Linked DNA regions of Homo sapiens: region 2 is linked to region 1. Evidence: promoter capture Hi-C in human tissues and cell types (Jung and others, 2019). All regions are on one chromosome and are shown on one strand. Each heading gives the region's core, a stretch centred on a gene start or on the middle of the fragment in contact. The rest is flanking DNA. Distances are from core to core; before and after follow the strand shown. Region 1 holds the start of JAKMIP1 (janus kinase and microtubule interacting protein 1). Region 2 overlaps C4orf50 (chromosome 4 open reading frame 50).

Region 1 (6,632 bases), core at 209-2,708:
AAGGAGCTGGCCAGCTGAAGTTAGGGCGTTCGCGGAGAGAGCACAGCACTGGCAAAGGCCAAGGACAGTGTGCCTGCGAGTGTGCGCAGATGGGGCGGGCGGCGGAGGAGGGCTGGCGGTTAGATACAGTATCGCTGGAGCTCAGAGAGCCGGGCAGAGGCTGGCGGAGAGCCGAGGCTGGCCCAGCCTTCAGGAGACCGGCGAGCTGGGGTGTGTGGGAGCGGGATGCTTCTAAGGCGAAAAGAAGCGCCAGCCTCGTAAGCGGCCTCTATCTGGGCTGCCCAGGCCGGATGCTCAGGAGCCCACAGCAGGGGGGATGGAGCGAAGGACCGAGGGGCTGGGAGGCGAGGCCGCAGCGCACTGACGCAGGCCAGCGAGGCCGCTGGCCCCGACGCAGGGCGCCCGGCAAGGTGTCTGGCACCACGAGAGTCAATCCTTGCGCGCCATCTCCGGAGGCCAGTGCGCCCAGGGCGCGCCGGCCCGGCAGGAGGGTGGGTGCCAGCCTTTCTTCCCATCTCTCGAGCCTCCTCCCCGGCGCCCACGTGGGCGGAGCAGCGCGAGGGTGTGCGTGGCAGGGGCCGCGGCGGCGTGTGCCGTGCGTGGGGTGGGGTGCGGGCTGGGCGGCCTCGCCTTCGGGCCCCGCGCCGCCGGGGCGCGGCCCCCAGCTCCATCTTCTTTGCCACCTGGGCGGAGATCTGGGGGACTGTGACCTACCCTGCGGAAGACACGGAGGGGACGGGCCGGCCACACCCCCCGCGCCACTCCGGCAGGCACCGGGTGGGTCCCCCTCCCGCTCCTTGGCTTGAGGGCGGAATCCGGAGAAGAGTGGAAATAGGGGTGGCGTGAAGGAGAGCTGGGGGCTGGGGGCGGGACCGGGAGGGGGTGTTGGGGGAAGCGACGCAGCGGCTGGGAGATTTTGCAAGGGGGTCTGAAGAGGAGTGGGGGATGGGTATGGAAGGGTGGGGGACCACTGAGGTGGGATGCGAGAGTGGAAGGGGGACCCAGAGGGGGCGCGATGGCCGGAGGAGGGGGAGATGGACGATGGGGCGGGGCGGCACCGGTCGCCGCGTCCCTTGCCGCCAGGTCCGCCCCTCGGTCGCCGGGTCCACGGGTTCCCTCTGGCCAGCGCTCGCCTCCCGCCCCCCGGCGCACCTGTACCCACCTGCTCGGCGCTCAGGCCCGAGCCGGGCAGCAGCAGCGGACGTAGCGAGCGCAGCCCCGCGCCGCATCCTCCGGCCGCCCCCTCCCCGCTGCGAGCTTACGCCGCTGTCGCCGCCGCCACCGCCTTAAAAAGGACAAAACGGAACAGAAAATGAATGCATGCACAAAAAAAATCGTAAAAAGCAATTGAGGAGGATGGCAGTCGCGCGCGCGGCTCGGCGGGGCGGGAGTCGAGAGGCCGCGGCACTGGTGGCCGCGATCCGGGCAGGCGGCCGGCGCGTGCCGCACGCGGGTGGCTGCAGCTCCCTCGGTCGCCCGCGCCCGGCTCAGGCACGGCACCGCCCCTCCCCCCGGGGAGCCCCTCCGATTGGTCTGTCTTCCTGCCAGTCAGGCAGGAGGGCGCGGCGCCCGCCCCGCCCCGCCCCCGCCCCCGCCCCGGGCAGATGCCGGGAGCTCTCCTGCCGCCGTGGGAGGGGGAGCTGAGCTGCCGGAGCGTGCGCACTGGGCCAGCGGGCGGCCGGGGCAGGGCTGGGGTCCCGGCGCTGAGCGCCCCCAGCCGCGCCGGGCAGCCTGGCGCCTCGCTGAGTCGGAGCAACCCCCGGCAGGAGCTTTCAGGCTCTGGTCAAGCCTCGGGACCCGGGAAGCTATCCCTGCCCTCGGGGGCTCGAGCCTGGAGTGGGGCTTGCAGGTAAAGCGGGGCTGGGGCCGTCCTGGCCGTCAGTGGTCAGGAAGACGCAGCGACCCCGGAGATCCATGTCCCCCTCTGTACGCATGAGAGGTCTGAAGGTCAGAGGTTAAAGCGCACGCTAACGGCGGCAGAGCCAGCAAGCGGCAGAGCTGGGCGGATGCCAGCCTAGGGAGCCTCCCCCCACCAGCCCAGGCTGCCCCCAGCAAAGCCACATCAGCAGGTCATAGCCAAATGAAAGATGTGCTGTCGAGCTGAGACTTGGGAGGGGCAGGACTCAGCTGGGCAAACATTCATTCAGTGTCATTAGACAAATATTTATTGAGCACTTGCTGTGTGCCAGGTAGTCACTAAGATGTGGGGACACCACAGTGAACAGCAGAGAGGAAGCGGCTGCCCACCAGAGCTTACTTTCTAGCAAGGAGAAGGCAGGGAAGAGCACCCACCAAAGGGAGCAGCATGGGGGAACACCCTGACTGCTGTGAACGGGACATATTTGAGAATCTGATAAAAGTATCTGGGCCACAGAATGGTGAGAGGGAGTGTGTGGAAGATGGGGGGCGGGGGCACAGAGGGGCAGCACTTGCAAGGTCTTGCAGGCTGGCGAGAGTTTGGAGACTGTCTCACCTGGAAGGTGGTCCCATGGACCATTGTCAGATTGATATTTTTTAAAGTGCATCAGTCAGGATAAGCTATGTTAGCCACAGTAACAACCAAACCCAAATCTCCCTGGTGTGTCTTGCCCACATCATACATCCTGCCTCGGTCAATGGGGCTCTGTTCATCAGAGTGGTTGGGAGCCCAAGCTGCTGGGGCTGTCTGCCAGCCGAGCACCCACATGGTGCAGCAATGTGAATGAAAGGTGACAATTATGCTGGCTTTGAAGGCTTCCTCCCCGAAGGGACTCTCGTCACTTCTGCTCACGTTTCATTGGCCAGAGCAGGTCACATGGCCATGCCTAACTTCAGAAGAGGAGGAAGTGCAGACCTCTAAGGTTCAGGGGGTCAGGAGGAACTAGGATATCTGTGAGCAGATGTGAGACTATCTTTAGCAGATGCCCTGGCTGCCCTTGGGGCATGGGCTGAAGTAGTCAAGAGTGGGGACAAGGAGGCAGTGTGGGGGCCTCCTCCACGCTGATACAGTGAAGTATCAGCGCATCAGAGCAATCTGGGTGCAGAATTGGCAGGACATGCTCACGGCTTGGACGTGGACAGGAGGGAGGGAGGGACAATCAGGGACAATGCCCAGGTATCCTGGGATGAATTGTGTTCCCCCCACCCACCCCCTCAAAAAAAAAAACTCGTATGTTGAAGTGCTCACTCCCAGGACCTCAGAATATGACCTTACTTGGAAATAGGGTCGTTGTAGATGTAATTAGCTAAGATGAGGTCACAATGGAGTAGGTTGGATTCCTAATCCAGTCTGCCTTCTATCCTTATAAAAGGGGGAAATTGGATACAGAGACACAAGCAACGGGAGCATGCCGTGTGAACATGAAGGTAGAGATCAGGTCGAGGCATCAGCTAGCCAAGGAAATGCCAAAGATGGGAGCAAACCCCCGGAAGCCATGAGAGCGGCCTGGGACAGATCCTTCCCCAGGGCTTCATAGGGAGCGTGGACCAGCTGACACCTGATTTCAGACTTCTAGCTTACAGAAGTGAGACAGTGCATTTCTGTTGTTTAAAAAGCCCAGCTGGTGGTACTTCGATACATGTGTGTAGATTAAGGGTTATGTCTGGCTGTGAGTAATCGGGATCACAACTAGACAGCGGCTTAAACAGATTTTTATTCTCTCTTAACAAGAAATGCAAAGGCAAGCTGTTCCTCACTTTATCCTCTCTCACTCCTTCACCCTCAGGATGTAATTTTCTTTTTCAAAATGTCTTCTACGTGGCAAGTTGGCTGCCTCTTCCCAGACATCTCATCACTATTCCAGTCAAGAAGGGGAAGAACAAAAGGCATACCCACACTAGGTCAGCTCCACTTCACCGCTTTCCTGAAAACTCTCCCCAGAGAGCTCTGTTTTATCTCATTGGCTGGGACGGTGTCTCATGGCCAGCCCTGGCTTCAGAGGAGGCTGGGAGTATTGTTATTATTTTTTAAGATGGTGTCTTGCTCTGTTGTCCAGTTTGGAGTGCAATGGCGTGATCTTGGCTCATTGCAACCTCCGCCTCCCGGGTTCAAGTGATTCTCCTGCCTCAGCCTCTCAAGTAGCTGGGATTACAGGCCCACACCACCACACCCAGCTAATTTTTGTATTTTTAGTAGAGATGGAGTTTTGCCATGTTGGCCAAGCTGGTCTCAAACTGCAGACCTCAGGTGATCCACCCACCTTGGCCTCCCAAAATGCTGGAATTACAGGTGTGAGCCACCACGCCCGGCCAAGGATGTTTTTTTTTAATTGAAGGTACATTGCTGCCTGAAACAAAGTCAGGGTTCCATTAGTGAGGAAAAGAAGAAGAATGACTTTTGAACAGGCAACTATTGGTTAGTAGATCCAGGTTTTGTAAAACCTGGAGCCGCTACAGTCCCCCTTAGGAAGAAGAATTTAAAAACCCCAGTACAAGACTTGGTACAAAAATGAAAACTTATTTAGAATAATAACAAATCACAACAAATTTTAAAATATTTTAAGTTGACAAATATCAAAAACGTTGCGAAAACATTATAAAACTAATATAAAATTGTATTAATTGGATACCTGATATCCACCTTTATAATATCTTCTTTTTTTTACATTTTTTGCTTCTTCGTCATTTTTGATTACCTCTTTGGAAGCCAATGATTTTATAATATTTTTCCTGTGGAGAAAATAGATAATTCAGAGTACTCCTATAATGATGGGAACAAATTTTAATGTTGGTTGGAAAACTTTGTCAGCCTCATAACTCATTATTGGTAATCTCAGGTAGTTTTTTGAGATTGTTTTCAAATTTGGAGAAAGGTCTATCATTCTTTCATAAATGAATGCTAACACTTGGAAGAATTCTATTTCTTCCAGGCTTCTTACTGGGATTTTATTAATTTTCATGATGAAAAGCAACTGAACAATTGCAAACCAGAACATGACTCGACTAACACCTCCTAAACCTCAGTGCTGGCGCCCATCACCTGGAGAGGCATAGGAGAAATGCAGATGCCCAGGCTCCTCCACATCCCACTGAATTGAAGCCTCAGAGTAGCAGGGTCTAGGAATCAGCATTTTACTAAATGCCCCAGGTGACTCCTGCTGAGCAGTCCTGGGCTATGCGACACCCCCAGTTGCCTTGTGACTCTGAGGGTCTGCAAATCCAGACCTCTCCTATTGGAAGAATGACATTTTCAACCCTTATGTCTCTTCCTCTGCCCATAGACTCCTGGTGCCAGGCACCATAGCACACATTGCCAGTGCCATGGCAAGGAGGGCACTCCTGGGAGCCATTAGCCTGTTCAGGGAGCAACAACTCGACCCACACAGACTGGCTCAGACCTACATAAACACACCCCACTAAACCCAAACCAAGGCATCCCCAACTCAATCCCCCTTCAGCTACATCCCCAAAATGCCCTTGGCCTCCGCAGCAGCTCCGAAGTGGGAGGAAGCATGATGAGGGCGGCATAGGGAAAGAGACAGAGGGTATTATGGGTTGGATTGTGTCCTCCAGAACTTGAGTGCTGAAGCCCTAACCCCCAGGAGCTCAGAATGTGACTGTATTTGGTGATAGGACCTTTAAAGAGGTCACTGAGCTTAAATGAGGTCTTTAGGGTGGGACCTAATGCAATATGCCTGGTGTCCTTATAAGAAGAGATTAAGACACAGAAGGAAGCCCCTGTGGAGACACAGTGAGAAGATGGCCATCTGCAAGCCAAGGAGAGGGGACTTGGAGGAAACCAACACCTTGGTCTCAGACTTGAAGCCTCCTGAACTGTGAAAAATAAGTTTCTGTTGTTAAAGCTCTTCAGTCTGTGGAACCCTGTCTTGGAAACCCTGGCAGCCAGCTTAGCCAGTTACAGCTAAAATATCTTGCTTTTGGAAAGTATTTCCAAACACAAGGCCACATGAACCCAGAGCTCTGGCTCTCCCAGGCCTTGGAAGGGTCTGTACTTAGCTTCACAAGGAATTCACCCCCGCTGCCACCACGTGGTCACTACATAACCCTCAGGACGACCTATGGGGCAGGGGGTCAGGTACCACCAAGATCTCCCTATTAGGGACGAGAGGTTGGGGCCCAGGGGCTCACTCACAGCAAGCAGCATGGAAGCCACGAGTCTTCCGAAGCCAAAGCTGCTTTCCCCGCCCCGTGTGCCCTGAGCCCACAAGTGGTAGGGAGGAAGTGCCCTGAGCCCTGGAAGTGGTAGAGAGGCAGGTTTCAGCTCCCTATAAAGACAAACATTCTCATCAGAGGGGCTCCTCTCTGGGAAGCTGTGAGCACCCAACACCTGTGATGGGCTGGTCACTTGCAAAGATGGTGGAAAGAAACTTCAGTTCCTGCTGCTCTTGCAGAGTAGAGTGTGGTCACCACCACCACTGCAGGGCTGGGCTGCTGGGATTAAATTCCAGCTGTGTCAGGTACCCATGGTGACCTTAGGCAAGTAAGTGAACCTTTAGTTTCCTTATCTGTAAGATTAATCTTTTAATCATAATAACTGCATAGGTTTGGGTGGGGATTCAGTGAGTGAATATATGTGACTCTGGGTTTGTTTCCTGGGCTGCCCTAATACAGTATCACAGACTGGGAGGCCTGAAACAACAGACATTTATTTTCTCACAGTTATGCCTGGCCAGAGTCCACAGTCAGGGTGTTGG
Region 2 (6,643 bases), core at 1,794-4,293, 200 kb before region 1:
GAGAGGGTGAGTCACTTGTCCAAGGTCACACAGTAAGTCGACAGGAGCACAGGAGCAGAGCTCAGGTTTCTAAACCTGATCTGGAACTTTCTGCCTCCCTGCCTGCTCTATCAGTCCATCCTACATTTCAACCCTCAAGAAAACATTTGCCTGTAACTTAATCTGGACTCAGCTTTCATGTGCAATTATAAGCAAAAAGAAGAAAATGAGAAATATCAGGATATCCGGGCATAAACATGAATGTGTTAGAGGCCCTTCTGGGCTTTTTTCTATGCCTAGACATTTTCCTATGCATAGACATTGCGAAAGTTCTATTTATACAAAATGTAAATTTTTACTTTGTGAATTTTGCATTTAATGATATAGAAGGATCATTTCTCTACAGGATCTTCTGCAGTGTGGTTTTTATAGCTAACTAATATTCTCTGCTATAAGGGAGAGGAAAAAAGGGAGATAGTTCCAGATCAAATCAATTCCCTCTTATTGGACAGTTGGGTTGTTACGAATTTTTACCAACTATAAGCAGAGCTGAGATAAACATGACTGTACATGACTCTTCTGCACCTCCAATCACTTTTTGGATATATTTGTGGAAGTCAAATGGCTGAGACTCAGGCATAAACCTTTTTTAAAGGCATTTAATACTTACTGCTTGACAGCCCTTCCAAAGGGATATGTTCATTTATACTCCTGATAGCTCAAACACCACACGGCTGCAGGCCCTTTTAACCTTTGACAGATGTACAGAAGAAAACGGGATCCTGAGATTTTTCTCACTGGCGTTATTTTTTAACTAATGGAGCTGTCCATATTTTTTTATTAAGACCACTGGCCATTTTGTACTTCCTTTTACATTATTTGCATGTTCATCCCTTTTGCCTATTTTATTTTTCGACATTATTGACACTGCTTTTTTTTTAAAAGCTCTTGCTTGCTGCTGGAGAGAGAAACAAATGTGTAATACCCTGCTCTGCACAAAAGCAAGCAGTGAGCAAGGCTGCCTGCAATTCACCCAGCAACAAAGAGATTCACGTAGCTGCCACCAGGGGTCACTCTACGCACACTGCCAGGGCATAGAGGCTGGCGGGATCATCCAGTCACTCCTGAAGCCCCTGACGTGGGATCGTGATCTCAGCTCTGGGATGACAGTGGACAAGGACTTTTTAAGAGCCTGGCTTTTCATCTCTCTGCACGAGCATCTCTGGGACCCTCCAGGCCAGGCACAGCCCTGTGCTGCCCTCTGCCGTAGCATCACTGTAGTGTCATGGTTTGCACCTGTGTCTGTCTCCTCTATAAGCTTTTGGAGGGCAAGGTTCATGCCTGGCTCACTGCACCTGGGACATGGCAGGTGCCCAGTGCACACTCATGGGAAAGCATTCAGACCCATCTGCAGATAAACCACGTTTGTCTTGCCAAATATGAATGGTTCTTACTTCCTTTTACCCTGAGCAGAAACCCTGTCCCCAAACTCCTCCCCACATCAGGGTTTGTCCTTGCAGTGGTCCGTTCCTCTGGGGATCAAGGTTCCAAGTAACTTGCTCTAAAACATGTGACCTCGGGAGGAAGCATATGACCCCAGGCAAGTTACGGGAATCCTCCAGACTACAGGTTTGTGGATAGGGCACTGCCCCGGCTACCTTGCAGAGTTCATGAGTTCCTGTTTAGGAAAGTGCTTTGTGAATATGAAGCAAAGGAAACACACTTTTATAATGACTGCCTTTGCCATAGTTCACACCATGGCTCCCAGAGCACATCAGACATAGCCAAGGGGTCACTGCAGGTGGGGCCAAGCCTGTGCCTCCTTTCAGATACTGCTGCTTCCACTTCCTTGGGCAAGTGACTTTACCTCCCTTCCTCAGTGTTCTCCTCTGCAAAATGAGAATCCATAACTCTACCACCTCATAAGCTTGTTGTGGGGAACGCAACACATTACCACGCTGGGCAGGCAATAAGCACTCCAAAAGTTGATGAAAGTCGGCTTTCGTGATGATTTTCTATCTGTGGTACACATCTCTGGGACTAGACCCTCCCCACCATTTCCCCATTTCTATGCCTCACTTCCCAGCATTGCCACTGTGAAGCAGTCCCTTCAGCCAGAAGCTTCCTTTTCCCGTGGGCAGTGGAGCAAATAACTTCACCGATGCCTCAAGGCACTCACTCATCAAGCATTTCACAGCTGGTGGCCAGGGACTGGGAATAGAGCTAAAGTGAACCAGTTTTTGATGATGAGGGGCACACAGCTGAGGGAGTGGGCATCTGGGCACAGTGAACATCAGGGCCACCAGAGGTGGCTCATGTCACCTCGGGGGCACTGAGCTGACGTGAGATCAGGGAAGTCTTCCAGAGAAAGCAACATTCCCAACAAATAAAGAGAAAGTAGCAAGGCTTTCCAACAGCCTGAGTGGGGGTGGGCACTAGAAGCTTCCAGACACAGGCAAGGCTTACAAGGCAGAAGAGCCTGGCACACTCAGGGACCTGCAGCTCAGTGTGACTAAGGTGGCATATGGGGGACTGAGCTTGAAGGAGCAGAACACCGGGGGCCTTGAATGCCGTGGATAGGAGGTTGAACTTGATCCTGAGGCCGTGGGCAGCCATGGTGGGGTGCTTATGGAGGGAGATCCTTTGACAGTCACCACTGTTGTCCAGAGCAAGGTGCTGAAGACCTGCGTGTGGCTCTCGGTCCTCCTGGGTCACTCCCAGTCCTTTGAAGATGCACTGGCAGCCTTGGGCAGTCACACAGCATGCGATGCTCTCTGGACTCTGCGACTTCACAGATGTGCAGAGGCCTGGAAGCCACAGCCATGGCCACTGAGGCTCATGCAATTTCCACCAAGACATGAAGAGCCGCATCTGGCTTTGCAGTTCCTTATCGATGGGTTCTAACACTTTAATTTATAAATTCCAGGCTGCATTCAACCTGAGAGCTGGTGGCTGGCTAGCTCTTCACATTTCCCAGTGGCCCTCTCAGGAGGAATTCTTCCTTTCCAGGCAGCCCTTTTTGACCTCAAGATGCTGTTTGTGGGCCATCAGCTTCCTTCTGAGAGATGGACAGAGACTGGCAGCCTTGTCACATGCTGCAGCCTGGGTCCAGCCCCCACTGCAACACCAGGGTCCTCCCCCAGTGACCCACGGACTCCACAGGGCTCATTTCCTTGCCTTTCCTCTGCCCCTACCTCCTTCACCCAATCTGTTTTGTCATCCTGTGGGGCAGGGTCTTGTCTCACTCCCCAGCCCCTGTACTGAGCTCAGACTGGAGCCAAGCACACGCACCAAGTGGGTACCATCAAATCCTGACTGTTGACCTGTTGACCAGTATTTACTGAAGAAACAGGGCGTGCGACACAGCTATGGGATCAGCTCACCAAAGGGCAAATCCTGGTCCCACCATATTACCGTCTGAATTTTCATGTCCCCCCAAAACTCATCCGTTAAAACCCATATCCCCAAAGGGATGTTATTAGGAAGCGGTGCTGAGTCCCCTCCAAGGGCAACCCATCGGTAAGTGGCAGGAGAGCCCACCTCCACCGGAAGTTAGAGCAAGTGATACCAGAAACACAAAAGCCATGATAAAATGGATACACACACACAGCCAAAGCAAGCCTCTTGCTAGTCGAAATTCTCCTAACCTGGTTTTTCAAGGGCCATGGTTTTAGACTGCTGGAAGGCAGAATCAGTGATTACCCAATGACATTTTTTTCTTTTATTTTTTGAGACAGAGTCTCGTTCTGCCAGGCTGGAGTGCAATGGCGCGATCTCAGCTCACTGCAACCTCTGCCCCCAAGAGTTCAAGCGATTCTCCTGCCTCAGCCTCCCGAGTAGCTGGGATTACAGGCGCATGCCACCATGCCCAGATAATTTTTGTATTTTTAGTAGAGACAGGGTTTCACCATGTTGGACAGGCTGGTCACTTTAGGTCAGGAGTTCGTGTTCCATGATATTTTATGCTGAGAATGTTATCCAGCGTTTGTTCAGCGGGTTCCTGCAATCACGGTCTCTTGGGTTCTTCCCTCTGACACCACCAGGGAGACAATTACCGCTATTTCTCATCCAGTAGAAATCCACAGGGGAGATGGCATGTCCCAAGAAACTAGTGTCCTAAACGAGCCAAGAAGCCAGATCATCTGCTTGCCGCCTCACAGGGCTGAAAAGGGGCCTCAACCCACACAGGCTCTGATAACAGAGAGTCAGTGCTATCTTCCCTCCTTCCTCCTTTTACTTAATAAATATTCACCCAGCACCTCTTCTGTGCCAAGGACTGTGCTAGTGCTGGGAATGCAGCAGAAAATAAAGAGGACAGTGCCTGTCTTGCAAGATGCATGTTTTGGCTGAAGTAAATGAATGAATAAATAAATGTATAGCATGTCAGTGTGCCTGCGGCACTCAGCAAACACCGGGAAGGCAGAGCACACCCAGCCCCAGCCCTGCCCTTGGGAGGCTCAGCCCAGCACTGACAGCCATGCATGTGAGGGCCCTGGGAGGACAAAAGAGGCTCCTGGGGTCAGGGAATACCTGGAGGAGGAGAAGAGACCATAAGCCGTCATCTGCCACATAACTTTGTGGAGTGGGTTGAATTGTGCCTTCCCAAAAGAAATAGTACCTGAGAGTGTGGCCTTAGTTGAAAATAGTGTTTTTGCAGATGTGATCAAATTAAGGTGAGGCCATACTGGATTAGGCTGGGTCCTAATCCAATAAAGATCTGGTGTCCAGATAAGAAGAGAAGAGACACAGAAACAGACACACAGAGGAAAGAGGCCAAGAGAAAATGGAGGCAGAAATCAGAGTGATGCGTCTGCAAGTCAAAGATTGCCAGGAGCCACCAGAAGCTGGGTGTGGCAAGGAGCAGACTGTCCCCTAGAGCCTCAGGAGGAAGCATGGCCCCACTGCCACCTTGATTTCCGACTTCTGGCTCCCAGACCTAGGAGAGAATAAATGTCTGCCGTTTTAAGTCAGCAGGTTTGAGGTACTTTGTTACAGCAGCCCCAGGAAAATAACATGCTGTGCCTTGCCTGTTTCCTCAAGGCCCAACCTGCAGCCCCGGGAATACCCCAGGTGATCTGGCCCTTACCTGCAGCAGCTAGCTCCAAACCAGCTGGGAACACCTTGCCTGCTGCTGTCACTCTGTCCCTAGGCCTGTGGCTGGCTGGGGCCCCTCCTGCCCACTCAGACAATGCTCTCCTGCCCCAGAGCTTCCCCCCACCAGGTGGGCTCAGATCCCTGGCAGCCTGACTCAGGGTCGCTGCTGGTGCCATCCTCATGTCCTTGGAGGGCGGCTCTCAGCTGCATGAGCACCCACCGCTGCCTCTGGGAAACTCCCAGCCCAAGAGGCTGGGTGGATATGAAAGGAAAGGCAGGGAATGGGAATTACATCGGGGCCTCACTCCTTGGTTGTGTGACCCTGGACAGGACACTGCATCTCTGAGCCTTCTGCCTCCTCTATGAAGCAGACAGGAGGACACCTACCTGGCCATGTCGCTTGAGGATTAAGTGAGTAACAGATGGGCAGCTCCCAAGATGAAAGCCAGCCCCTTCCCCTCACCTCCTCTCACATCCCAGGTCTTCTGCCAGACAGGGGGCTTCACCCACCTGCTCTGCCCTGCAGCAGACCTAGGTAAAGGCTCTCAGCTCCTTGGCCCAGACAGCCGTCCCCAGATGGCCCTTTGCACAAGGCCACTGCAGTTCTCTGAGTCTCCCCAGCCCATCCACAGGCTGCTGGGACACAGGAGCTGGTAACCGCAGGCCCCATCCACCCTAGGGACATGTTGGCCTGAGCTCCCACCAGCCATTCAGGCAGCTCAATGGTGACAAATTACACTCACATCTAAACTGTTCCAGTCCAGGATAAGCCCTCAGGAAAAATAAATAAAAAGTCAAGAGAGAGAAAATTACAGTGTAGGTAGTGAGGGTGATTTACCCAACATCCTACTAGATGAGCACAAGCCCAGGAAGAGATGAGGAGGAGGGTGGCAATGGTGATGGTGATAGTGATGAGGGTGGTAATGGTGATGATGGTGATGGTGGTCATGGTGATGGTGATGTTGGTGATGATGGTGATGGTGATGATGATGTGGTGGTGATGGTGATGGTGACTGTGATGGTGATGGTGATTATGGTGATGATGTGATGGTGATGTTGATGGTGGTGATGGTGATGATGGTGATGGTGGTGATGACGGTGATGATGTGATAGTGATGATGGTGATGATGGTGATGGTGATGATAGTGATGATGGTGATGATAGTGATGGTGATGATGTGATGGTGATGATGGTGATGGTGATGATAGTGGTGATGGTGATGATGTGATAGTGATGATGGTGATGATGGTGATGGTGATGATGGTGATGGTGATGATGGTGATGATGGTGATGGTGATGATGTGATAGTGATGATGGTGATGATGGTGATGGTGATGATGGTGATGGTGATTATGGTGATGATGTGATGGTGATGTTGATGATGGTGGTGATGGTGATGATGGTGATGGTGATGATGGTGATGGTGATGATGTGATGGCGATGATAGTGATGATGGTGATGATGGTGATGGTGATGATGTGATGGTGATAATGTGATAGTGATGATGGTGATGGTGATGATGGTGATGATGGTGATGGTGATGATGTGATAGTGATGATGGTGATGATGG

Evidence for each region. Contacts are between HindIII fragments. The study calls those that stand out against the background at their distance.
Region 2: a contact is called between a fragment that was not itself captured here and the fragment with the promoter of JAKMIP1 in region 1, in 2 of the 25 tissues and cell types used here (dorsolateral prefrontal cortex and mesendoderm cells).

The regions. Positions count from the first base shown.
Region 1 is chr4:6,199,091-6,205,722 of GRCh38, forward strand. It overlaps JAKMIP1 (janus kinase and microtubule interacting protein 1), which reads right to left and starts at 1,459. Exons shown (of 21, transcript NM_001099433.2): 1 at 1,163-1,459. JAKMIP1-DT (JAKMIP1 divergent transcript) reads left to right here and starts at 1,643. Exons shown (of 4, transcript NR_037863.1): 1 at 1,643-1,849. RefSeq lists enhancers at 1-24, 2,977-3,026 and silencers at 495-844, 1,115-1,874. The HindIII fragment of the contact is 28,205 bases long and covers 1-6,632 here.
Region 2 is chr4:5,997,462-6,004,104 of GRCh38, forward strand. All of the region lies in intron 3 of C4orf50 (chromosome 4 open reading frame 50), which reads right to left. Among named protein-coding and RNA genes, the nearest start is that of C4orf50, 18 kb to the right of the region's middle. The HindIII fragment of the contact is 5,514 bases long and covers 287-5,800 here.